Regions from separate parts of the Homo sapiens genome. Here all the other regions are linked to region 5. Evidence: promoter capture Hi-C in human tissues and cell types (Jung and others, 2019). All regions are on one chromosome and are shown on one strand. The core of a region is centred on a gene start or on the middle of the fragment in contact, and the rest is flanking DNA. Distances in the headings are between cores, read along the strand shown.

Region 1 (3,498 bases), core at 165-2,664, 310 kb before region 5:
TCCCAGCTGAAATGTCACTTCTTTTTTTTTTTTTGATGGAGTTTTGCTCTTATTGCCCAGGCTAGAGTGCAATGGTGTGATCTTGGCTCACTGCAACCTCCGCCTCCCGGGTTCAAGCAATTCTCCTGCCTCAGCCTCCCGAGTAGCTGGGATTACAGGCGTGCGCCACCAGCCCAGCTTATTTTTGTATTTTTAGTAGAGACGGAGTTTCACCATGTTGGCCAGGCTGGTCTCGAACTCCTGACCTCAGGTGATCCACCTACCTCAGTCTCCCAAAGTTTTGGGATTACAGGTGTGAGCCACTGCACCTGGCCTGAAATGTCACTTCTAAGGATACCTGCTCTGACTCCCCAGTCCAGGGCAAGTCCCCTGATTGGGCATCCAGAGCCCCAGGCCCCTTCTCCTGCAAGACACTGGTCCCAGTTACGCGACAGGCGCTTATGGGCCCTGTAGGTGGATCTGTCTCCCTCCGGAGCCAGTACGCTCCATGTGGTCAAGGACCTTGTCCGGCTCGCTCACCAAGGACCCCCAGTGCTCAGCAGGGACTGAGTGAGCAGGTCCAGGGAGGTGATACCAAACAAGACAGCCTGGTTTTGCCCTCATGGACCTGGCCATCCATCAAGGATGCTGAATCATCAAAGCCACATCGTACCAAGTGTTCATTGCTGTGGTAGATCGGGCCTGTGGGGGGACTCAGCAGGCACACCCTGGTGGGTTAAGCATGGCTTCCCAGAGGAAGTAACTTTGACACTGGGACCATAGGTATCAGCTACGTGAAAGGAGAGTTCAAAGATCATGTGGGCTGGAGTGGCCAGGAGATACTTCCTGGAGGAAGGACATGGAGTGTATTTGGGTAGGGGAGGGGAGAAGGCAGTATTTAAATTAGAAAGTGCAGTAATTAGTTGAATTTGGATGGTCCTGGTTGAAAGAGAACAGACTGGGCAAAGGTCTGAAGGTGACCTGTGCCGAGGGCCTTTTGCCAGGACAGTGAATGATGAGGCCAGGCTGGCTGGAGTAGGGGGGCAGTGGGGACCAAGTAGGCCAGAAAGCTGGCTGTAATTCCGGTGGGCTTGAAAAGAGTTGCTTTCCAAGAGTGGGGACTCTCTGCCAGCAGTGCTCCCTCTGGTTCCAGTTTCCCAGGCAAGAGAGGCTGCTGGGCTCTTAAAGATCTTGAAGCAAATGAAGGCAAAGGAAGGCCATGCCCGGGGCCCAGGCATCCTGGCTTTTGTGCCTTCCCTCGAGGGTGCCATGCTGCCAGTGGGACAGCTGACACAATGAGCCTTGTTGTGGGAGACCCAGGCCGGGGAGCACAGGCCCGGAGCTGGGAGCCAGGGCAGATGAGGTAGGAGAAGGTAATGATTATAACAACAACATAATAACGGTTGTCTTTATTGAGCAATGACTACATGCCAGACACCGTTCTAAGCCCTTTTGATATTATTCCATGGAATCTTCACACCGTGCTGGGGATGAGGTATTGTGCTGCTTCTATTTTAGAGGAAAAGTGACTGAGGCACAGAGAGGTGGAGACACTTGCCCAAGTTTGTCTCCTCGTGAGCAGCAAGGCTGAAATGTGAGCTATGCCTGCCTGAATCCACAGCCCATCCACACACAGTCCCCAGTAGACAGTGGTGCCACAGTTGAACTCAGAACTGGCTGATTCCAAAGCCCAGTGTGCCCTGTGGCTTCCCGCTGGATTTCCTGAGCAGTCTGGAAGGTTTACAAATGGGCACAGAGGGAGGCTCCCAGAAGCTGGGACAATGCTGGGCCCCAGAACTCCAGAACCCTCTAAGTCAGGGGTGTCCAATCTTTTAGCTTCCCTGGGCCACACTGGAAAAGGAACTGTCTTGGGCGACACGTAAAATACACCAACACTAACAACAGCAGATGAGCTAAAAAAAAAAAAAAGTCCATAAATGTCATAATGTTTTAAGAAAGTTTACAAATTTGTGTTGGGCTGCATTCAAAGCTGTCCTGGGCCACATGCAGCCCATGGACCACAGGTTGGACAAGCTTGCTCTAAGAGATGTGAGGGATTCCACGAGACCAGGTTCCAGTCTAGTTTACACAGCTCCCTCTGTTTGACCTTGAGTTTCCTCCTCTATAAGATGGGGTCAGCCGGGCGCGGTGGCTCACGCCTGTAATCCCAACATTTTGGGAGGCTGAGGCGGGCGGATCACAAGGTCAGGAGTTCGAGACCATCCTGGCTAACATGGTGAAACCCCATCTCTACTAAAAATACAAAAAATTAGCCGAGCGTGGTCGCAGGCGCCTGTAGTCCCAGCTACTTGGGAGGCTGAGGCAAGAGAATGGCATGAACCCAGGAGGCGGAGCTTGCAGTGAGCCGAGATCGTACCACTGTATTCCAGCCTGGGTGACAGAGTGAGACTCTGTCTCAAAAAAAAAAAAAAAAAAACAAATTATGGGGTCATAGGGCTGGACATGGTGGCTCATGACTGTAGTTCCACCATTTTGGGAGGCGAGGCGGGTGGATCACCTGAGCTCAGGAGTTCGAGACCAGCCTGGCTAACATAGCAAAACCCCGTCTCTACTAAAAATACAAAAATTAGCCGGGTGTAGGGGCAGGTGCCTGTAGTCCCAGGTACTCAGGAAGCTGAGGCAGGAGAATAACTTGAACCTGGAAAGCAGAGGTTGCAGTGAGCTGAGATGGTGCCGCTGCACTCCAGCCTGGGTGACAGAGCAAGACTCTGAAAAAAGAAAAAAAAGGTGGGGTCATAACCACCATGTTGTGTACTTAGTCTGTTGGGCTGGGACTAAGCATTTCTTCAACATTATCTCATTTAGTACCACAGCCCTGTGAAGTAGAGATTATTATCCCCCCCTCCCTTTTTTTTTTTTTTTGAGACAGAGTCTGGCTCTGTCGCCCAGGCTGGAGTGCAGTGGCGCGATCTCGGCTCACTGCAAGCTCCGCCTCCCGGGTTCACACCATTCTTCTACCTCAGCCTCCCGAGTAGCTGGGACTATAGGTGCCCACCACCACGCCCAGCTAATTTTTTGTATTTTTAGTAGAGACAGGTTTCACTGTGTTAGCCAGGATGGTCTTGATCTCCTGACCTCATGATTCGCCTGCCTCGGCCTCCCAAAGTGCTGGGATTACAGGCGTGAGCCACCGCGCCTGGCCTATTATCCCCATTTTTCAGATGAGGAAACTGAGGTCTGGAGAGGTTAAGTAACTTTTTTTTTTTTTAAACGGAGTCTCGCTGTGTCGCCAGGCTGGAGTGCAGTGTCACCAGGCTGGAGTGCAGTGGCGCAATCTTGGCTCGCTGCAACCTCCGCCTCCCAGGTTCAAGTGATTCTCCTCCCTCAGCCTCTTGAGTAGCTGGGATTACAGGTGTGCACCACAACACCCAGCTTTTTTTTTTGTATTTTGGTAGAGACGGGGTTTCACTATGTTGGCCTCAATGGAGAGGTTAAGTAATTTTACAGTGAATTGTATAACTGGGTCAAAACATAGATCTGTCTGACCACAGAGCCTGC
Region 2 (3,906 bases), core at 166-2,665, 490 kb before region 5:
CACGGTGGCTCATGCCTGTAATCCCAGCACTTTGGGAGGTCGAGGCGGGCGGATCATGAGGTCAGAAGATCGAGACCATCCTGGCTAACACAGTGAAACCCTGTCTCTACTGAAAATACAAAAAATTAGCCAGGCGTTGTGGCGGGTGCCTGTATCCCCAGCTACTTGGGAGGCTGAGGCAGGAGAATGGCATGAACCCGGGAGACAGAGCTTGCAGTGAGCCGAGATCGTGCCATTGCACTCCAGCCTGGGCGACAGAGCGAGACTCCGTCTCAAAAAAAAAAAAAAAAAAAAAAAAAAAAAAAAGTGGGGAAAACACTGCTGGCACAGGGAAGGATAAGAGACGGGGATGTTTAACTTTGAGGGAGGGTGGTGGGAAGAACGAAGACCTTCGAGCTGCAATGTGGAAGACAGAAGGAGGCGTGGTGGTCTGGTTATAGCACTGGAGGTACGCAGACTTCAGCTTGAAGGCTCTCTTTATCACTTGGCTAGCTCTGAGCCGGACTTCTGAGTCATCTGTGAAATAGAAGGCGCCTCTCGGAGTTGCGAGAATTGAATGAGATAACTCCTGGGAAGCGCTCCACCAGGGTCTGACGCTAGAAAGCACTTTGTCAGAATTGTAGTTTTCGTATATAATATTTCATCTTCTTGTCCCTAAAGCCTAGTTCAATCCCTGAAATCTCTTGGAGGATTTGGACATGCTGGCTGACTTGATTCAGTGCAAGAAAAGAACGATACGAGGCGCGGAGAGGACAGAAGCCGCAAGCGTGGCTCCGCTCAACGCGAAACAAAATCCTAACAAGAACAGATCGCGGGAGAGGTCGGGGAGCCAGCAGGGCGCACTCGACGCCGGGGCAGGACACTGGGAGCCTGCAGCAGGGACGTGGGTGGGGGGTACCCCAGGAGACCGCAAAGCTCCCCGTGGCTCGAGGGAGCGTCACGGCCGGAGAAGGAAGCGCGGGTGGGGCGCCAAGAGACGCGTCGGAGGTGAGAGAGGAGGAAGGCAAAGGGCCCTGGGTGAGGAGATGGGAGGCCGAGCGCGGAGGGAAGGGGTGAAGAGCCGGCCCCCCTCCTGAAGAAGACTCTTCAGATCCCCGCGCGCGGGGACCGTTTGGACGTAACCGCCTCCCGTCTCGGTGCCCGTCCATCCAGCCGGGGTTGGCCCTGCCACTGTCGCCACATCCCGCCTCCAATTCCCGCCCCGCTTCCGCTCGGCTTTGACACCGCGCTTCACAGCCACCCCGGTCCATTCGACCCGCTCCGCACCTCACACACGGCCCGCCGGCGGCCGCCGCCATCTTCGCGCGCCCGCTCGCCCTAACCCCGCCCCCAGACGCCATGCCCACGTGACCGCTCGCCCCCGGACCCGGAGCGTGGGCGGGGATTTCGTCACGTGACGTTGCCGCGGGGCGGTGCCAAGATGGCGAGGCCCAAAGAGGTGAGGAGCCGGCAGCGGGGGCGGCTGTAACTGTGAGGAAGGCTGCAGAGTGGCGACGTCTACGCCGTAGGTTGGAGGCTGTGGGGGGTGGCCGGGCGCCAGCTCCCAGGCCGCAGAAGTGACCTGCGGTGGAGTTCCCTCCTCGCTGCTGGAGAACGGAGGGAGAAGGTTGCTGGCCGGGTGAAAGTGCCTCCCTCTGCTTGACGGGGCTGAGGGGCCCGAAGTCTAGGGCGTCCGTAGTCGCCCCGGCCTCCGTGAAGCCCCAGGTCTAGAGATATGACCCGAGAGTGCCCATCTCCGGCCCCGGGGCCTGGGGCTCCGCTGAGTGGATCGGTGCTGGCAGAGGCGGCAGTAGTGTTTGCAGTGGTGCTGAGCATCCACGCAACCGTATGGGACCGATACTCGTGGTGCGCCGTGGCCCTCGCAGTGCAGGCCTTCTACGTCCAATACAAGTGGGACCGGCTGCTACAGCAGGGAAGCGCCGTCTTCCAGTTCCGAATGTCCGCAAACAGTGGCCTATTGCCCGCCTCCATGGTCATGCCTTTGCTTGGACTAGTCATGAAGGAGCGGTGCCAGACTGCTGGGAACCCGTTCTTTGAGCGTTTTGGCATTGTGGTGGCAGCCACTGGCATGGCAGTGGCCCTCTTCTCATCAGTGTTGGCGCTCGGCATCACTCGCCCAGTGCCAACCAACACTTGTGTCATCTTGGGCTTGGCTGGAGGTGTTATCATTTATATCATGAAGCACTCGTTGAGCGTGGGGGAGGTGATCGAAGTCCTGGAAGTCCTTCTGATCTTCGTTTATCTCAACATGATCCTGCTGTACCTGCTGCCCCGCTGCTTCACCCCTGGTGAGGCACTGCTGGTATTGGGTGGCATTAGCTTTGTCCTCAACCAGCTCATCAAGCGCTCTCTGACACTGGTGGAAAGTCAGGGGGACCCAGTGGACTTCTTCCTGCTGGTGGTGGTAGTAGGGATGGTACTCATGGGCATTTTCTTCAGCACTCTGTTTGTCTTCATGGACTCAGGCACCTGGGCCTCCTCCATCTTCTTCCACCTCATGACCTGTGTGCTGAGCCTTGGTGTGGTCCTACCCTGGCTGCACCGGCTCATCCGCAGGAATCCCCTGCTCTGGCTTCTTCAGTTTCTCTTCCAGACAGACACCCGCATCTACCTCCTAGCCTATTGGTCTCTGCTGGCCACCTTGGCCTGCCTGGTGGTGCTGTACCAGAATGCCAAGCGGTCATCTTCCGAGTCCAAGAAGCACCAGGCCCCCACCATCGCCCGAAAGTATTTCCACCTCATTGTGGTAGCCACCTACATCCCAGGTATCATCTTTGACCGGCCACTGCTCTATGTAGCCGCCACTGTATGCCTGGCGGTCTTCATCTTCCTGGAGTATGTGCGCTACTTCCGCATCAAGCCTTTGGGTCACACTCTACGGAGCTTCCTGTCCCTTTTTCTGGATGAACGAGACAGTGGACCACTCATTCTGACACACATCTACCTGCTCCTGGGCATGTCTCTTCCCATCTGGCTGATCCCCAGACCCTGCACACAGAAGGGTAGCCTGGGAGGAGCCAGGGCCCTCGTCCCCTATGCCGGTGTCCTGGCTGTGGGTGTGGGTGATACTGTGGCCTCCATCTTCGGTAGCACCATGGGGGAGATCCGCTGGCCTGGAACCAAAAAGACTTTTGAGGGGACCATGACATCTATATTTGCGCAGATCATTTCTGTAGCTCTGATCTTAATCTTTGACAGTGGAGTGGACCTAAACTACAGTTATGCTTGGATTTTGGGGTCCATCAGCACTGTGTCCCTCCTGGAAGCATACACTACACAGATAGACAATCTCCTTCTGCCTCTCTACCTCCTGATATTGCTGATGGCCTAGCTGTTACAGTGCAGCAGCAGTGACGGAGGAAACAGACATGGGGAGGGTGAACAGTCCCCACAGCAGACAGCTACTTGGGCATGAAGAGCCAAGGTGTGAAAAGCAGATTTGATTTTTCAGTTGATTCAGATTTAAAATAAAAAGCAAAGCTCTCCTAGTTCTAGTTTTGCTGATATATTTTTTTTTTTATTTTTTTTTGAGACAGTTTTGCTCTTGTTGCCCAGGTTGGAGTGCAATGGCGCGATCTCGGCTCACCGCAACCTCCACCTCCCAGGTTCAAGCGATTCTCCTGTCCCAGCCTCCTGAGTAGCTGGGATTACAGGCATGCGCCACCATGCCCAGCTAATTTTGTATTTTGAGTAGAGACAGGGTTTCTCCATGTTGGTCAGGCTGGTCTCGATCTCCCGACCTCAGGTGATCTGCCCACCTTGGCCTCCCAAAGTGTTGAGATTACAGGCGTGAGCCACCATCCCAGCCTTGCTGATATTTAAAAAGAAAAGAGTCTTAAGGGATAGTCCAGCAACTCAAAGAACCTGAGTGTGCTATAGAGCCCCCTCTTTCGCCCTGCAGCCTCG
Region 3 (3,887 bases), core at 1-2,500, 460 kb before region 5:
CCCGGAGAAAACCCGGTCCCACCACCCAACCCTCCTTCCCTAGACACAGCCAGATCAGCCTGTGACCTCCAGGCTAATCTCCCCCACCCCCACAACTAATCCAGGATTTGCCCTTTCCCATCTCCAAGGATTTTATCTGCTTCCTCTGTGTTTCTTCTGGAAACCACCCCCCACCACTGCTTACCAGGTGCCGGGAAATTATGCTGTGAGAGGGTCAGGCCAAGCAGCTGGGCTGAGTCCCAGTCCAGGCGCCGCCATTCCCTGTGACTCTGAGGAACGCCTGCCTCTCTCTAGGCCTCAATCTGGATAGAATGGGATGCAGGGTTGGTCTGGGGGATGTGCGGCACCCCCCTTCTCCAGGTAATGGGCATTCCAAAGGTGGAAGAGGTCCTGGGGAGAACTATCTGGGCCCCTCCCAGCACCGATCTGAAACCCTCTCGGTCCTGGGAGGATTATGGAAGGGAATTAACGCATCCATCTGCAGCTCAGACGAAAGTAGGAGACATGGGGTATCTTAGTAGGAGGAAGGGGCTGAGGAGAGAGAGATGCTTCCTGTTACCCACCCTCAGGCCCAAGATACTTGGCATCTCAAGTCGGGCTGGCACAGTGGAGCTGGGGTCAGAACAACACCTGCAGGCCGGGTGCGGCGGCTCGGGCCTGTAATCCCAGCACTTTGGAGGCAGAGGCGCGCGGATCACGAGGTCAGGAAATCGAGACCATCCTGGCTAACACGGTGAAACCCCGTCTCTACTAAAAATACAAAAAATTAGCCGGGCGTGGTGGCGGGCACCTGTAGTCCCAGCTGCTCGCGAGGCTGAGGCAGGAGAATGGCGTGAACGCGGGAGGCGGAGCTTGCAGTGAGCCGAGATTGGGCCACTGCACTAGAGCCTGGGCGACAGAGCGAGACTCGGTCTCAAAATAAATAAATAAATAATAAATAAAAATACCAAAAACTAGCCGAGCATGGTGGCAGGTGCCTGTAGTCCCAGTTACTCGGGAGGCTGAGGCAGGAGAATCGCTTGAACCCAGGAGGCGGAGGTTGCAGTGAGCCGAGATCATGCCACGGCACTCACTCCAGCCTGGACGACAGAGTAAGACTCCATCTCAAAAAACAAAAACAAAAACAAAAAGAGAGAATAACACTTGCACACCACCACCCTTCTCAGCTTGCCCTGCTCAGCAGCTGGCAGGGCCACTCGCTGGCTCTGAAAAACCGGCTGCTGCCTTCCCCAAAATGATGCCTTCTGAATGGCGAAGGGACAAAGTGTTTCAGGAGTGTGCATGGGGACACTGCTCAGCCCTCAAGAGCCTTGGCCTCGAGTCAAGTCGTGTTTGCTGGGCCACCGCTCTGGGAGCTGCTGCTTGGTCCAGGCCGTCCGGGGGGCAGGGGGGAGCAGTAAGTGCAGCTCAGGCTCCTGGTTCAGAGGGGTTAGGCTGGGTGAGGGGCAGGCAGATGACAGAACCACGAGGTTCACTAGAGGCAGGATGTGTTCCCAGCTGTCCTTAACCCTTCTGATGCAACTGCCCAACAAAGACAGATGCCTACCATGTGCCAAGAACACTGAGGTCCCCTCGGACTGGGCCAGCCATTCCCCTGGGAGCCCCCACAGAAGGCTTGTAGTAGAGACTCAGTGAAGCAGACTGTGTTTGCGTCCCAGATGTTCAGGCCTTACTTTCCCAGTCTGTAATTTGGGGCTAGCAGTAGGATCCCCTGTGAGCAGTAAATAAGATGAATGCTTCGCAGCTGATAAAGAGCTTGGCACCAGGCCTGGCGCTGAGTAAGTGCCTACCAACTGGTGAACAAGTTGTTCACCAAATGTTAGCAGGGGCTGTTCTGAGTGGAATATTATTTATTTATTTATTTTTTATTTTATTTATTTTTTTTGAGATGGAGTCTCGCTCTGTCACCCAGGCTGGAGTGCAGTGGCGCAATCTCAGCTCACTGCAAGCTCCGCCTCCCGGGTTCACGCCATTCTCCTGCCTCAGCCTCCCCAGTAGCTGGGCCTACAGGCGCCTGCCACCACGCCTGGCTAATTTTTTATATTTTTTAGTAGAGATGGGGTTTCACCGCGTTAGCCAGGATGGTCTCAATCTCCTGACCTTGTGATCTGCCTGCCTCGGCCTCCCAAAGTGCTGGGATTACAGGCGTGAGCCACCGCGCCCAGCTGGGTGGAATATAATTTAAACAATTTTTTTGAGCTTCCAAAATTGCTGTTACAATCAGAGAGAAGACCACCACAGTGGTTTTAGGCAGAGTGGAGAGCCCTGGGTGGGTGGGGGAGGGGGAGGGGAGAGGCCCAGCCTCCCACTAACTGTTCATTCTGCTCAACTTTGGGAAGTGGGTGGGCGGTGTTTCTACATGGTGGTTTTTTCCAAATGTAAACCAGCTCCAGATCGAACTCTCCTGCTCCAGGCGCTGGACAGCCTCAAGGCCAGGGTGGGGGCGGGAGTGGGGTCGGGGGGTGGTGGGAAGGGTACCAAACTGGGGGAGGGACCTCCACCACGGAAACAGAAAAGAAGGCCCCAGCCCGGCAGTCACAGTCCAGCTGCTCAGCCTGTCAGCCCATGGCAGGGGGAGAAGAGGGAGGGAATCTTGGCTCAGGCCTGAGTTCACCTGGAGGGGTCAGAGTCCCCGTGGAGGGAGGAGGGATAGACTCTGTCCAGTTGTAGAGGAGGTGCCCAAGCAGCCACCCAGGCCTCATCACTAAGGTCAAAGTCAGATATGATGGCCTTTCTTCCTCACCCAGTCTCCTGCCGCAGGGCGCCCACGTTGGCCCACCACAAGGATCCTTGGTCTGGGTGGAAGATACAAGGCCATTTATTGGGTACTAGCAGCCAGGTCCTCCACCAAAAACCCCATCTACCTACATAATCGCCATTGTTCCTTGAACAGTCCTGCAAGTGTGCCATTACCTTCCTGATTTTACAAATGAGAACACTGAAGCCCCACATCAAACACGGCAGAACTGGCATCTGGAAGCAGCTGTCTCAGCCTCTGCCCTTTACCACACTACCTCCCAAAGGCCCCCAAAGGGGCTGGGAGCTGAGGCAGGCTTCCCCACGATGACTCTCAGCCCCACCTCTGTAGACCACTTGGGACTCACTGTTGGAATTGCAAGGGACCTTTGAGAGCACAGAGTGGAAATTCCCATTGTCCACATGGGGATACAGAGGCCACTGGAGAAGGGATCTGCCTAGCTTCATGCACATCCTGTCCCATGAAGCTGGGACAAAGGCCCAGGACTACTGGTTCCCATTCCAGTGCCCTCCTCTCCCATCCCCACCCATCAAAACTCATGAGGGGCCAAGCACGGTGGCTCACGCCTATAATCCCAGCACTTTAGGAGGCTGAGGTGGGTGGATCTCTTGAGCTCAGGGATTCGAGACCAACCTGGGCAACATGGCAAAACCCCGTCCCTACAAAAAATACAAAAATTAGCCAGCACGGCTGGGCGCAGTAGCTCATGTCTGTAATCCCAGCATTTTGGGAGGCTGAGGTAGGTGGATCAGAAGGTCAGGAGATCAAGACCAGCCTGGCCAACATGGTGAAACCCTGTCTCTACTAAAAATACAAAAATTAGCTGGGCATGGTGGCAGGCACCTGTAGTCCCAGCTACTCGTGAGGCTGAGGCAAGAGAATCACTTGAACCTGGGAGGCGGAGGTTGCAGTGAGCCGAGATCGAGCCACTGCATTCCAGCCTGGGTGACAGAGTAAGACTCTGTCTCAAAAAAAAAAAAAAAAAAAAAAAATTAGCCAGCATGCCCCTGTGGTCCTAGCTACTTGGGAGGCCGAGGTGAGATCACCTGAGCCTGGAGAGGTCAAGGCTGCAGTGAGCCGTGATCACGCCACTATATTCCAGCAGTGCACTCTAGGTGACAGAATGAGA
Region 4 (3,400 bases), core at 253-2,752, 330 kb before region 5:
AGGAAAGACTGTCCTGGGCTCAAAAGGTCCCAACTCTCATTCTCCAGGCTTCAGTCCTGTCCTGTTACTCTCAGGAATCTGGCACCTCCTGCGGAAAGCTTAGGAAAGCTTAGGGCATGCTAAGTGTGGCCACTGCCCCTCTGGGAAACCCCTCCAAGCTCAAGGCAGTCACTGCCTGTTCAGCTCTACAGAATCTGGAAAAGGCCCCAAGAGTCTGTGTGTAATTTCCTTCCAAGGCCCCAGCCCCCAGCAGCTGGGCCCCAGAGCTGACCAGGTGTGGCCTCCCCCTGTATTCTAGCCACAGGGCTGCTGTAGGGAAACCGTGAAAATACAGAATGGCTTCTTACCACTAAAGCTGAGTTCCCGCAGCTTTTCCAATGCAATTGAGGGCTCCTTCAGGACATCCTGGAAATCTGCAATTCTGGAAGGGGAGATAGGGCGGCAAATGAAGCATGCTGATATCGGCTCAGTGAGACCCACAGCCCTCAGCTCCCTCACACTGCCAGTTTCCAACCTGTGCCTCTCTCCCCTTTAGGACATAAAAATCACACAGCTTAGTCAAGGTCCTCACCAAAGACAGCTTTGGAGAACAACAAAACTATATTTCACTTCTTCCTCTACAACCAGAAACACAGAATGCCAGGGAAGAAACTTGAGAGATATTCTTGTCTAGAAGTTCCCAAATGAGGACCATAAAATTAGACATATTCCAACATTCTAATACTTAGTGAGCTGACATTTACTGGGCACTTCCTGCCGGCCAGGCCGGGTCCACGCACAGCCACCAACTGAACTCCTTGGACCTCAGGAACCAGGAGTAATTTGATATGCAGACAATGGACCATGCTCACAAATATAACCATTACAAGACCTCTGGGCCTGCCAGAAGGCAAGGACAAAGGGTTTAAAAAACACGTCCTGAAGGAAAACTGAAGAGTGAGCAAAATTCAGCCAATGCTGCAGGATCTGGCCTGGGGGAGGGGCCAGACTGGAGAATGCAAGTTCTCTAGCAATCCTAGTAAGAAAAAGGCACGGGGGACAGGGTGCACTTGGAGAGAGTACGGGAGCAGGGGGATCAAAAGGGGGAAAGGCACGGGGGCGGGGCATGGGGGTCTGGATGAGGAAGACTCAGGGGAAGGGGGACACCAGGGGTCCAGGATGAGGGAGGCAGAAGCAGTGACATCAGGGGCAGGAGAAGGGCCGCCCCTCCGTCGTTCCTGCAGCCCACAGGCAATGAGGTTAGAAGGTGGACGCTCGAGACCCTCTGCCGAGGGGGTCTGCCGATTCCTGGCCACACCCGCGCTTCCCCCTTCTGAGGGGCAGAAGGGGCAGCCTGGCCAGGAGTGGCCCAGCCGGGTCAGGCCCCATGGCCCCTTACCGGCTCTTGTGCAGACTTGACATGGTGTTGACTTCCGGACCCCCCAGCCGCCTCCGCCGCCTGCGCCTCTGCCGCCTGCGCTGCCGCCGCCGCCGCCGCCCCCCAGGGACGCGGGGCTCTGCGCAAAAGCCTCCGGCGGGAAACACAGCCACTAGCCTGCGCGTTCCACCGCCTCAGCCCCGCCCCGCCCCGCCAGTCACGTGCCACCCCTCGACTCTCACGCTTCCACACGGTACTGGCGGCTACGGCCGGCCGGGTTGAGCGGGGCAACCTCGGGTCTGGTGGGCGTGGCAATCGCGGGCCGGGAGCCCCAGCGCCGCCGACCCTGCGGGCCAAATTTGAGAACCCGCCGGTGACAGCGCAGACTGTGTGTCTCTGGACTATTCCTTGCGCTTCCCTGGGCCTCAGTGTCTACTTACGCAATATACCTGTCACCCTGTCGTCTTCCCTGCACTCACCCCCCTGTAATTAACTACTGCATGATTGTTACAGGAGTCTCGGCCTCCCCTGCTAAACTGTTCAGGCCCCCCAGCTTATCTTGGTCTCTGCAGAATCCTCAAGGCCTGTATAGCAGGGACTCGCATGAACCGCCGTGCGCGGCCCAACTTTTTTTTTTTTTATAAAAACTATACCAGCAAACCCTATAAAATGTAAGTTAGGAAGAAAGAAAAAAACACAAATGATATCTTAAGAAAAATAGGCTGGACCGGGCGCGGTGGCTCATCCCTGTAAATTCCAGTGCTTTGGGAGGACGAGGCAGGCAGACCACTTGAGGTCAGGAGTTGGAGACCACTCTGGCCAACACGGTGAAACCCCGTCTCTACCAAAAATGCAAAAATTAGCCGGGCGTGGTGGCAGGCGCCTGTAATCCCAGCTCCTCGAGATTACCTTCTTTACAAAAGATGTAAAAATTAGTTGAGTAGGCCGGGCGTGGTGGCTCACGCCTGTAATCCCAGCACTTTGGGAGGCTGAAGCGGGCAGATCACCAGGTCAGGAATTTGAGAACAGCCTAACCAACATGGTGAAACCTCGTCTCTACTAAAAATACAAAAATTAGCCGGGTGTGGTGACGCACAACTGTAATCCCAGCTACTCAGGAAGCTGAGGCAGGAGAATTGCTTGAACCCGGGAGGCGGAGCTTGCAGTGAGCCGAGATAGTGCCACCGCACTCCAATAGCGCCACCGCACTCCAACCTGGGCAAAAACGCAAGACCCTGTCAAAAAAAAAAAAAAAAGAAAAGAAAAGAAAAGAAACTGCTTAAAGATTTTCCGAAATGGTTGTATTATTTAACACCTTTTTCTTGAGAAAAAAAAAAAAAGAAAGAAACAGCTAGCCAGGCGCGGTGGCTCACGCCTGTAATCCCAGCACTTTGGGAGGCCAAGGAGGGCGGATCATGAGGTCAGGAGATCGAGACCATCCTGTCTAACACGGTGAAACCCCATCTCTACTAAAAAATACAAAGAAAAAAATTAGCCGGGCGTGGTGGTGGGTGCCTGTAGTCCCAGCTACTCGGGAGGCTGAGGCAGGAGAATGGCATGAACCTGGGAGGCAGAGCTTGCAGTGAGTGGAGATTGCACGACTGCACTCCAGCCTGGGCGAAAGAGCGACACTCTATCTCAAAAAAAAAAAAAGAAAAAGAAAAAGAAAAGAAAGTGCTTAAATATTTTCCAAAATGGTTGTATTATTTAACACCTACCCCAGCAGTATATGAGAGTTGCTGTTGTACCACGTCCTCACCAATACTTGATGTGGTCAGTCTTTTTAATCTTAGACATTCTAGTAGATGTGAAGTGGTATCTCCTGCTTTAACATGCATTTCCCTAAAGACATATGATGTTGAGCATCTCTTCACACGTTTGCTATGCATATATACTCTTCTTTCTTTTTTTTGAGACATGGTCTCACTCTGTCACCCCAGGCTGGAGTGCAGTGGCGCAATCTCAGTTCACTGCAACCTCTGCCTACTGAGTAGCTGGGACTACAGGCGCATGCCACCATGCCCAGCTGATTTTTGTATTTTG
Region 5 (3,414 bases), core at 406-2,905:
CAGGAAGCTGTGACATCTGGGGAGGGAAGGAGCGAGGGAGGTAGAGCTAGGATTGTGTATACATTTCGTTCCCCCTTCCCTTTAAAAACGATTTTTAAACGTTTTGGTCCAGACTTTCAGCAAACACAATGAGGAAGCTGGAAGCCTCAGGCGAGCCTGCCCTGGGGACCCCTGGCCACCTTTCCCTGCCCTCCGGCGCAGGCGCCTCCCACATCGGCAATACCTGGGGGAGCCGCCTGAGGATGAGGCAGACATGGCTAGGCATCAAAGCCGCAAAGGTGGGCAATTGGGTCAGCAGGCTCTGCTCAGGGGGACCCAGAGGGGCAGGCTTGTCAATGAGCCTCTCAAGGGGCCCGGCATCAAACGTCCTCTCTGAGGGGAGAAGGGTGGAAGCTTTGGGGTTGGCAGTTGGATGAAAACTTGGGAGGCGCTCCTCTACTGTCCAAGTCGCACAGCAACTGTCCTGCCAAAGTAGGGGGAAATAGTAGAGGCTGAGCGACCTGGGGGCAGAGGGGAGGAAGGGGAGGGGACGGGGCAGAACCGCGAGGGAAAGGACCACCGCGCCCGGGTCCCACGCGGAGGACTGCCGGTGGCTACCGGGGGAAACCTGAGGCGCCGGCGGACGTGCGGAGAGGGCGGGTGAGAACCGCTCGGCCCCAAGTGGGCCCCAGAGGGCCAGAACCGCGCAGGGAGCCGCGGGGATGCTGGGGCGGGGCCGGACAACTGTCTCCTAGGAGAAGGGGCGTTACGGAAGAACAGATGCCCGAGAGGACCAATAGTGTTTAAAGGAGGGAGGCGCGGAGGTTGCACGGGCCCCGGGCGCCCCGCCGCGAGGGAAAACCGAACAGAGTTCTGAGCAGGATAGACGCCGGGCTGGGAGGGGGCGGGCGGGACCCCCCCCCGCCGGGCGAGGGCCCTGGCAAGCCGGAGACGGTGCCCGGGGGACAGCGCTGCCTACGGAGGGCGTACAAGTGACTGCCATGTGGAGGCCCGAGGAGAGGACGAGGCGGTCGGGGCGATGCCGCCGACGGGCAGCAGAGCGAGGGAGAGCCTCTGTCGGCGGAGAGAAGGGACGGCCACCCACCAGCAGGCAGGAGGGTACCGGTTTCTGCCCATAGAGAGAAAGGTGAAGCCCTGCCCGCGGGCGGCAGAGGAGGGGCAGAGCCCCGTGGTAGCCAAGAGAGGAAGGAGGCGGCCGACCGCCCGTTAGCGGGAGGAGGAGAGGCCCCGCGCCGGTGGGCGGGGCGGGGGCCCAGGTTCTGACAGGAGGGGGACGAGCGCAACGCGGCGGGGAACCCAGGACCCGACGGCCCCGCGGGGTCGACCGCGCCGGGGGTGCGAAGGCGACGGTCTCGCCCGCGGTGCCCCGGAGGGCGCTGGATCCCGCCTGCCGGCGGCCTCTCACCAGGAGCGACACGGCTGCGCCCAGAAACGCCGCCTTATGAAGTCGTTGAAGTCGGAGGCCAGGGTCGTGCCATGGAGACGCCGCGGCGGATGCAGTCTGGCTCTGGCAGCGGCTCCTCCCCGCTTCCGCCTCCTTTTCCGACACCCGGTCGGCAGCTCGCCCATTGGCCAGTTCAAACCCCCCCGGGAGCCGCTTGGGTTTCGCCATCGAGGCCCAGCCCCTAGCGTCACAGAGATGCCCCGCCCCGCCAGAAGGGCCGCCCACTTCCGGGCCACGCGTCCCGTCACCAAGGAGACGTGCTACGCGTCCAGCGGGCCTGGCCGGGTCTCGCCCCCCATTCAAGGCCTTTCCCGCTCGGCCCTGTTTCCCCTGCCTTGGATCCTCCCGGATTCCCCTCACTCAAAGGAGCGTACGGTTCCGACGCCCTCCCCTCGGTACCCACCAGGAAACTAGGCTCACAGAGGACCCATGGAACTAGTTATTGGGAGCTGCACACTGCCTCCGAAAATCCAGCCCTGCCCCTAGTCCACTATTAATGCGGAGATGGAGTCGGCTTCTGCGCATTCCCCGGCCTCTCCCCTGCCCACATCGCCTCTGTCTTGGCCCCAACAGGAGAAAGGGTCGGCATTCCCCTTGCTGTTCTGTTCACTACCTTCCTGCACTTTTTTTTTTTTTTTTTTTTTTTTTTTTTTTTTTTTTTTTGAGACAGATTCTTGCTCTGTTGCCCAGGCTGGAGTGCAGTGGCGCGATCTCGGCTCACCGCAACCTCCGCCTCCCGGGTTCACGCCATTCTCCTGCCTGAGCCTCCCGAGTAACTGGGACTACTGGCGCCCGCCACAACGCCCGGCTAATTTTTTTTTGTATTTTTAGTAGAGACGGGGTTTCACCGTGTTGGGCAGGATAGTCTCCATCTCCTGACCTCATGATCCACCCGCCTCGGCCTTCCAAAGTGCTTGTATTACAGGCTTGAGCCTCCGCGCCCGGTCTACTACCCTCCTGCACTCTCTATGCCGCTCTGTGTACAGACCTATTCTGATGAGGTCCTTGCTGGTCCGCCATCTTCTCAATTATGCTTCACTGTCAGCCAGTCAGGGGAGGTCTGTCACGTGGCTCATAATGCCGCCCTGGAATCTGGGAGACCTGAACCACCTCCGGGCCAACTGGGCCACAGTCCCTTGACCTTTCTCCAGTGACCCCGCAGCACCTTAGCCACACAGCTCCAGGGTCACACAAGTGTTTCACCTGCAATCCTAAAGTCAGACTCGCAAACAAAACCTGCTTTTCCGCCTCGCTTTCACAGTATACTGCATACTGAATTTGTTCTGTAATGTCAGGGAGCTCCCCAATCCCTTGATCCATTCATTGTCTCTCTGTTGAATAATTGATAGATTTCCTAATCCTCATTAACCATTTAAGACTGCGGTGGCTCACGCCTGTAGTCCCAGCACTTTGGGAGGCTGAGGCAGGCGGATCACCTAAGGTCAGAAGTTCAAGACCAGACTGCCCAACATAGCGAAACCCCGTCTCTACTAAAAATACAAAAATTAACCGGGCATGGTGGTGTGTGCCTGTAATCCCAGCTACTAGGGAGGAGGAGGCAGGGAGAATTCCTTGAACCTGGAAGGCGGAGGTTGCAGTGAGCCAAAATCACCACTACACTTCAGCCTGGGTGACAGAGTGAGACTCTTGTCTCAAAAAAAAAAAAAAAAAAAAAAAAGTATATACAGGTTCAAGGAAAAGAGGACAGGAAAAGGAGGTCCCGGTCCTCCTGGGGCAGGCAGGAGATGGTTCCCAGAGGTGATGGTATTGGAACTGAGCCATGAAAGGTGAGTGGAAGTTCGCCAAACAAGCAGCAAAGGGAATTCTAAACAGACTGCAGTAGGTACACAGGTACCACATGCAGGTACAAGAGAATACTGCATATTCTATGAAGCATCATCACTGCAGTCCCTTGAAGTGTTACAGGGCCAGCGATGAGAGAAATCCTGCCAAAGTCAGCAGGACCAGAC
Region 6 (3,456 bases), core at 784-3,283, 390 kb after region 5:
GAAACAGCCTCTGCTCTGAGGTTCTCATACAGAAAGGCCAGCACTTCTCTTCCTGGCAGGCCCAGGGATGACCATTTCTCTGCGCCCCTATGCCCACACCTCGGCCAAGAGCCCACAATAGTAACAATCTCGCTTTGACTTTTAGAAAAAAAATTTCCCCCGGATTCTTTCACTCCGTCCACACTCCAACCCCGCGGGGATCACGATCCCATTTTCTGGATAAACAGGGCAATGGAGATGAGCCTAAACCATGAGAACTGTCAGTCTTCGCCGCCAACGTCCACACGGATCAGCCTGAAACCCCAATACCAATTTTTTTTTCAACTCCCACATGTTCCTGAGAGGAACCAGATCAGGGCCCACGGCTGGCATGGAAACGAGAGGGAAAGGAGGGGGTGCTGCTGGGGACTGATGGATGAACCCATCCTTGGGTGAAGGGAGCGTCCAGCTTGGCCTTGAGGTCAGGAGGTGACAAAGGCACACTCCTGAGACCTGGCCTTCTACTCTGGGCAAGAAAGGGCTTTTCGCCCATCAGAAAGCCCATAGGATGCCCACCTGTGTCCACGAAGAACCCGGCTCAAGCACCCAAAGAAGTCAGGAAGGAGCCCCGCTCCCACCAGGGCATAAGTGGGGTGTCCCTCAGTGAGTCAGGGGGCACCCTTCCTCTGGACAGTGGGGGTTCCGCCCAGCCCAAGGGGCCGTCCCCCGAGACCTGTCACCCGGCCCTCGAGGGGCTCCCTCCCCGCCAGTGCTGAGGACGCGCGCAGCCTACCTGGAGCTCGCCCTCGGTGCGGTGCAGTCCCAGGCGCCGCAGCCCCACCGCCAGGTCGTTGACACACAGGCCGCCGTCCCGGTTGACGTCGAGCGTCTGAAAGAGTCTCCACAGGCGCAGCCGGTGGTCCGGGCCCCCGCAGATAGCGCCGCCGCAGGGGTCCCCCACGGACGCCGGCGATGAGGCAGACGAAGAGGCGGCGGTGGCGGCGGCGTCCGGCGGCGGGGAGGCCACACAGCGGCACAACACACTGCTCACCATCGGGCGCGAGGCAGGGGCTCCGGGCGCGGGCGGGAGCGGGGGCGGCGGGCCGGCGGTGACCGCGCGGGAGGCAAGCCAGGCGCTCTGCAGCTGGGAGCGCGGGCTCGGAGACGCCGGCAAGCTGGCGGAAGGGGCGGCTTCCGGGAGCCCCGCCCCTCCGCGCCCCGCTTCGCCGGCCACGCCCGGGCGCACCGAAGGCCAGTCACAGGCTCGGATGGGGAGGAGGGAGGGGCGGAGCCTGTCTAAGGACAGCCCACGCGCCACGGACTACCCGGATCAATGGGGTGGGCGGGGTCACCCGGCTCCGCCTGGGGCCGATTCAAACTGAGGGAGGCGGGGATTGGCTGAGCCGGGGGCCAAGAGAGAGAAAATCACGCAGCGATAGGCATGAGTAATGTGATTGGCAGGCGGAAGGCCCCGTGTCCAGTTTCCATTGATGAACTAACTCTGTTTAGACTGCGGGATCTTAAGGATGGGAGGAGCGGTAGTGTACGGAGAGATCGTAGCCTCCAGTGGGAAACAGGATTTGTGTGAGAGCATTTGTGAACTGCAGTTGCGAGGCAGAGTTTGTGCCGGTGGGAGGAATTAAAAGTTAATTGACCCATGGGTCACGGCCGAAAGCACTAAGTATCCTCAGGAAGCAGGGTTTTGGTAATCTAACTCCCTAAACCACCAATAAAATAGCTGAATTTAACGGCTTAATAGTCGTAATACTGACAATTGAACGACAGAATGATTTTCCAATGGAAGTGAATAAAGGTTAGGTGGGCGGGGCCCTCTGGGCGACGGACACAATTTTAGACCAATGATCAGGCGAATTACAGTAAGCAGGCGTGCTCTTTAGCTGAGCGACAGATCGAAAGAACCAGTGATCGACGTGATATTTGAGCAGCTACCAACCGGGAAGGCCGGTTTTCCCGGAGAAGCGCTGGGAGGCGGGAAGAGGGGAAGTGGGCGGATCTCCGCACACCTCGGCGGAAGAGGCAGATTCAGGAAGCCATTACGCTGCTGGCTGGCAGCGGCCGGGCCGGTCGGGGCTGGGCCCTACGCACTTTGCGTAGCGAGGGGGGTTACCAAAGGCCTAGTGCTTGGCCTCGAGCAAGCCTGGCCTATCCCCTGTAGGGGGTGGGTGAGGGGCGAGGCTGAGGAAGAAGAGAAGGGGAATTGGGGCGCTTGAGGGGATTATAATTTCTTTAAAAAGAGGGGAGGGGAGAGGCCATGGCCGTCCCAGCCAAGAAAAGGAAGATGAACTTCTCAGAGCGGGAGGTGGAGATCATCGTGGAGGAGCTGGAGCTGAAGAAGCACCTGCTGGTGAACCACTTCAACGCCGGGGTACCCCTGGCCGCCAAGAGTGCGGCCTGGCACGGCATCCTGAGAAGGGTCAACGCCGTGGCCACCTGCCGCAGAGAGCTGCCTGAGGTCAAGAAGAAGTGGTCTGACCTCAAGACCGAGGTCCGTCGCAAGGTTGCCCAGGTCCGGGCCGCCGTGGAGGGTGGTGAGGCGCCGGGGCCCACTGAGGAGGACGGAGCTGGGGGGCCTGGGACAGGCGGTGGCAGTGGTGGCGGTGGCCCAGCTGTAGCCCCAGTGCTGCTGACCCCCATGCAACAACGTATCTGCAACCTGCTGGGCGAGGCCACCATCATCAGCCTGCCCAGCACCACAGAGATCCACCCTGTGGCCCTCGGACCCTCGGCCACCGCAGCCGCAGCCACGGTCACCCTGACACAGAGTGAGTGACCTCTCCTGCCCAGGCGGCGTGCATAAGTGGGAAGGGCCAGCAAGCTCTGGGGTGGCCTGGGGAAGGTTGGCTGCCAAGGGTCAGAGGTCAGATGGGGGTCTTGGAAGACCATGAGGCCTTCCAAGAGCAGCACCCAGACAGAAGTGATCTTGCTCTCTTTGGGACTTCCTCAGCACGTGGGCTGGACTTCTGACGTGCTGGATAGCTCGCCACTGAGCATTGCCACCATGTTTGTCCATGACTTACCTCCACTTGCCGAACTGGGTGGTCCTTGAAAACAAGAGACCGTGTCTGTATCCCCACAGGACTTTTCACAGGGCCCGGCTTGTAGTAGACAGCCAGGCCATATTTGTTGAAAAAATTGATGGGAATAATACTGCCCAAGTGAGACAACGATTCTGGATTCTGTTTTCAGTGTGGGGGATCTTTCATCAGGTGCTGCTCAGGAGCCTCATGGTTCCTGGTGTTAATCTACTCCATTCATTCATTCATTCATTCATCAAACATTAGCACTTATTCTGTACCAAACCCTGTGCTGGGCACTGGGATTACCAAGTTGTCTAAAATACAGGCCAGTTATGTTCTAGTAGGACAGAGATGACACATATAGGAATAGCTTCGCCATCAGTTGGGAAAACCTCAGGCCCCGGAAGAGGAAGGGGGCTTCTTGGTGGCATAAGGACAC
Region 7 (3,774 bases), core at 1,230-3,729, 410 kb before region 5:
GCCTCCCGAGTAGCTGGGACTACAGGTGCACGCCACCACGCCTGGCTAATTTTTTGTATTTTTAGTAGAGACAGGGTTTCACCGTGTTAGCCAGGATGGTCTCAATCTCCTGACCTCGTGATCCACCCACCTCAGCCTCCCAAAGTGCTGGGATTACAGGTGTGAGCCACCATGCCCAGCCAATTCAACATGGTCTTTTTTTTTTTTTTTTTTTTGAGACAGAGTTTCGCTCTTGTTGCCCAGGCTGCCGTGCAGTGGCACGATCTCAGCTCACTGCAACCTCCGCCTCCCAGTTCAAGTGATTCTCCTGCCCCAGCCTCCGGAGTAGCTGGGACTACAGGCGTGTGCCACTATGCCCAGCTAATTTTTGTATTTTTTTTAGTAGAGACAGGCTTTCACCATGTTGGCCAGGATGGTCTTGATCTCTTGACCTCATGATCCACCCGCCTCAGCCTCCCAAAGTGCTGGGATTACAGGCATGAGCCACCACGCCCAGCCAACATGGTCATTTTTATAATGCCACACTACTGTGGAAAGTAAAGACTACCTGAATATGTATGTGTATGTGTATATGTATATATATGTATGCATCCTCACATATGTATCTCCACAATTGATTTTGTTTATTTTTTGAGACAGGATCTCACTCTGTCACCCAGGCTGGAATGCAGTGCTGTGATTATGGCTCACTGCTGCCTCGACTGCCTGGGCTCAAGCAATACTCCCAGCTGAGCCTCCTGAGTAGCTGGGACCACAGGCATGCACCACCACACCCAGCTAATTTTTAAAAAATTATTTGTAGAGACAAGGTCTTGTTATGTTGCCCAGGCTGGTCTGGAAATCCTGAGCTCCAGTCCTCCTGCCTCGGCCTCTCAAAGTGCTGATATTACAGGTGTGAGCCACCTTTCCAGGTGTGAGCCACCACATCCAGCTTTCTCTACAATTAAAAAAAATGCAAATAGAGTTATATTGTTCTTCAACCTGCCCTTTTTGTTTGTTTTTGTTTGTTTTGTTTTGTTTTGTTTTAAGACAAGGTCTCACTCTGTCTCCCAAGCTGGAGTACAGTGGCACAATCTTGGCTCACTGCAGCCTCAACCTTCTGGGCTCAAGCAATCCTCCCACTTCAGCTTCCCGAGTAGCTGGGACTACAGACACGTACCACCGTGGCCAGCTAATTTTTTGCATTTTTTGTAGAGATGGGATTTCACCATGTTGCCCAGGCTGATCTCGAACTCCTGAGCTCAAGCAATCTACCCGCCTTTGCCTCCTGAAGTGCTGAGATTACAGGTGTGAGTCACCGCGGCCAGCCTGTCTCTACAATTTAAAAAATGTAAATGGGTTATATTGTTCTTCAACCCTTTTAAAAAATTACCATACTTTTTTTTTTTTTTTTGTAATTGAGGTGAAATTCACCTAACATACAAGTAACTATTTTAAGGTATACAATTCAGTGGCATTTAGTGCATTCACAATGTTGTACAAACATTATGTCACTGTAGTTTCAAAACTTTATCGTTCCCTTAGGAAAACACTCCGTACCCATCAAATAGTCACTCCCCATTACCTCCTCCCTGTCCTCTGGTTACCACTCATCTGCTTTCTGTCTCTATAGACTTGTTATTCTGAATATTTCACAGAAAAGGAATCATAGCTATGTGACCTTTTTTGTCCGGCTTCTTTCACTTAGTGTGTTTTGTTTGTTTGTTTGTGACAGGGTCTTGCTCTGTTGTCCAGACTGGAGTGCAGTGTCATGACCTCAGCTCACTGCAATCTCCACTTCCCAGGCTCAAGCGATCCTCCCACCTCAGCCATCTTATTATCTGGGACTACAGGCACACACCACCATGCCTGGCTGATTTTTGTATTTTTTGTAGAAACAAGGTTTTGCCGTGTTTCCCAGGCTGGTGTCAAACAATGATCCTCCCACGTCAGCCTTCCAAAGTGCAGAGATTATAGTCATCAGCCATGTCGCCCTGGCCTCACTTAATATATTTTTGAGGTTCATCTAAGTTACAGCATGTGTCAGCACATATTTCATTCCATTTTGTGGCTGAATAATATTCCATGGTACAGATATGTTACAATTTATCCATTCATCCATTGATGGACAATTTGGGTTTTTTTCACCTGTTGGCTATGATGAATACTGTTGATATAAACATTTGTGTACATGTTTCTGTGTGGACATATGTTTTCAGTTCTTTTGGGTATATACCTAGGAGTGAAATTGCTAGGTTGTAAGGTACTTCTATATTTGGACTTCATAAAAATTAAAAAGTTTTGTGTACCAAAGAACATTATCTGCCGGGCCCGGGTAATTGCAGCACTTTGGGAGGCTGAGGCGGGGGGATCACCTGAGGTCAGGATTTCAAGACCAGCCTGGCCAACATGGCGAAACCCTGTCTCCACTAAAAATACAAAAATTAGCTGGGCGTAGTGGCGAACACCTGTAGTCCCAGCTACTCGGGAGGCTGAGGCAGGAGAATCGCTTGAACCCAGGAGGCAGAGGTTGCAGTGAGCTAAGATCACGCCTCTGCACTCTAGCCTGGGCAACAGAGTGAGACTCTGTCTCAAAAAAAAAAAAAAAGTACATTATCAAGAATGTGATCAGGCTGGGCACAATGGCTCACACCTGTAATCCAAGCACTTTGGAAGGCCGAAACGGGAGGATTGCTAGAGGCCAGGAGTTAAAGCCCAGCCTGGGCAACGTGGTGAGACCCCATCTCTGCAATAAAAATTTTCGAAGTTGTTGGTTTATTTTGAGTTAATTTTTGTAGATGGAACGAGGTGAAACTCCTGCTTCATTCTTTTATATGTAAATATCCAGTTGTCCCAGCACCCTTTGTTGAAGAGACTATTCTTTCCTCTATTAAATGGGCTTGGTGCCGGGTACGGTGGCTCACGCCAGTAATCCCAGCACTTTGGGAGGCCGAGGCGGGCAGATCATGAGGTCAGGAGATCAAGACCACCCTGGCTAACACGGTGAAACCCCGTCTCTACTAAAAATACAAAAAATTAGCCGGGCGTGGTGGCTCGCGCCTGTAGTCCCAGCTATGCAGGAGGCTGAGGCAGGAGAATGGTGTGAACCCGGGAGGCAGAGCTTGCAGTGAGCCGAGATTGTGCCATTGCACTCCAGCCTAGGCAACAGAGCGAGACTCCATCTCAAAAAAAAACAGGCTTGGTGCCCTTGTCAAAAATCAATAAGGCCAGGCGCAGTGGCTCCCACCTGTAATCCCAGCACTTTGGGAGGCCAAGGCCTTTGTATTGCGTGAGTCCAGAAATTTGAGACCAGCCTGGGCAACATAGTGAGACCCCCGTCTCTACAAAAAATTAAAAAATTGGCCAGGCACAGTGGCTCACACCTGTAATCCTAACACTTTGGGAGGCCAAGGTGGGCAGATCATGAGGTCAGGAGATCGAGACCATCCTGGCCAACATGGTGAAACCCCGTCTCTACTAAAAATACAAAACTTAGCTGGGCATGGTGGTGTGCGCCTATAGTCCCAGCTACTCAGGAGGCTGAGGCAGGAGAATCGCTTGAATCCCAGAGGCAGAGGTTGTAGTGAGCCAAGATCGTGCCACAGCACTCTAGCCTGGCAACAGAGCAAGACTCCATCTCAAAAAAAAAAAAAAAAAAAAATTAGCCAGGCATGGTGGCATGTGCCTGTAGTCCCAGCTACTCAGGAAATTGAGGCAGGAAGATTGCTTGACTCTATGAGAACAAGGCTGTAGTGAGCCGTGATCGCACCACTGCACTCCATCCTGGGTGACAGA

Evidence for each region. The method cuts DNA at HindIII sites, captures the fragments that hold promoters and counts their contacts. A contact is called where the count stands out against the background at its distance.
Region 1: a fragment that was not itself captured here is called in contact with the fragment with the promoter of ODF2 in region 5 in 1 of the 25 tissues and cell types used here (dorsolateral prefrontal cortex).
Region 2: the fragment with the promoter of DOLK here is called in contact with the fragment with the promoter of ODF2 in region 5 in 3 of the 25 tissues and cell types used here (dorsolateral prefrontal cortex, hippocampus and small bowel).
Region 3: the fragment with the promoter of PHYHD1 here is called in contact with the fragment with the promoter of ODF2 in region 5 in 4 of the 25 tissues and cell types used here (adrenal gland, dorsolateral prefrontal cortex, lymphoblastoid cells and 1 more).
Region 4: the fragment with the promoter of TBC1D13 here is called in contact with the fragment with the promoter of ODF2 in region 5 in 5 of the 25 tissues and cell types used here (dorsolateral prefrontal cortex, lymphoblastoid cells, mesenchymal stem cells and 2 more).
Region 6: a contact is called between the fragment with the promoter of NAIF1 here and the fragment with the promoter of ODF2 in region 5, in 1 of the 25 tissues and cell types used here (dorsolateral prefrontal cortex).
Region 7: a fragment that was not itself captured here is called in contact with the fragment with the promoter of ODF2 in region 5 in 1 of the 25 tissues and cell types used here (dorsolateral prefrontal cortex).

Annotation. Positions count from the first base shown.
Region 1 is chr9:128,760,522-128,764,019 of GRCh38, reverse strand. The region is part of intron 1 of ZER1 (zyg-11 related cell cycle regulator); the gene reads left to right. Among named protein-coding and RNA genes, the nearest start is that of ZER1, 9.7 kb to the left of the region's middle. The HindIII fragment of the contact is 8,053 bases long and covers 1-3,498 here.
Region 2 is chr9:128,945,112-128,949,017 of GRCh38, reverse strand. It overlaps DOLK (dolichol kinase), which reads left to right and starts at 1,415. Exons shown (of 1, transcript NM_014908.4): 1 at 1,415-3,488. The coding sequence starts at 1,715. The coding sequence ends at 3,331. NUP188 (nucleoporin 188) reads right to left here and starts at 1,319. Exons shown (of 44, transcript NM_015354.3): 1 at 1,267-1,319. The coding sequence starts at 1,298. RefSeq lists enhancers at 1,200-1,249, 969-1,530, 1,600-1,669, 1,531-2,092, 2,093-2,655. The HindIII fragment of the contact is 11,289 bases long and covers 1-3,906 here.
Region 3 is chr9:128,918,345-128,922,231 of GRCh38, reverse strand. It overlaps PHYHD1 (phytanoyl-CoA dioxygenase domain containing 1), which reads right to left and starts at 1,250. Exons shown (of 13, transcript NM_001100876.2): 1 at 564-1,250; 2 at 185-302. The HindIII fragment of the contact is 13,888 bases long and covers 1-3,887 here.
Region 4 is chr9:128,785,355-128,788,754 of GRCh38, reverse strand. TBC1D13 (TBC1 domain family member 13) reads right to left here and starts at 1,502. Exons shown (of 12, transcript NM_018201.5): 1 at 1,379-1,502; 2 at 348-421. The coding sequence starts at 1,401. RefSeq lists a silencer at 1,365-1,854. The HindIII fragment of the contact is 9,895 bases long and covers 1-3,400 here.
Region 5 is chr9:128,454,247-128,457,660 of GRCh38, reverse strand. It overlaps ODF2 (outer dense fiber of sperm tails 2), which reads right to left and starts at 1,655. Exons shown (of 21, transcript NM_001351578.2): 1 at 1,406-1,655. The coding sequence starts at 1,569. RefSeq lists enhancers at 374-1,109, 1,703-1,752, 1,110-1,845, 1,883-1,972, 1,846-2,582 and 1 more and silencers at 503-552, 763-912, 943-1,042, 1,173-1,482. The HindIII fragment of the contact is 20,941 bases long and covers 1-3,414 here.
Region 6 is chr9:128,065,897-128,069,352 of GRCh38, reverse strand. It overlaps NAIF1 (nuclear apoptosis inducing factor 1), which reads left to right and starts at 2,033. Exons shown (of 2, transcript NM_197956.4): 1 at 2,033-2,762. The coding sequence starts at 2,252. It overlaps SLC25A25 (solute carrier family 25 member 25), which reads right to left and starts at 1,121. Exons shown (of 11, transcript NM_001330988.2): 1 at 773-1,121. The coding sequence starts at 1,033. RefSeq lists enhancers at 15-94, 1,845-2,174 and a silencer at 825-1,394. The HindIII fragment of the contact is 18,346 bases long and covers 1-3,456 here.
Region 7 is chr9:128,868,570-128,872,343 of GRCh38, reverse strand. The region is part of intron 1 of KYAT1-SPOUT1 (KYAT1-SPOUT1 readthrough); the gene reads left to right. All of the region lies in intron 1 of KYAT1 (kynurenine aminotransferase 1), which reads left to right. Among named protein-coding and RNA genes, the nearest start is that of KYAT1, 11 kb to the left of the region's middle. The HindIII fragment of the contact is 5,668 bases long and covers 1-3,774 here.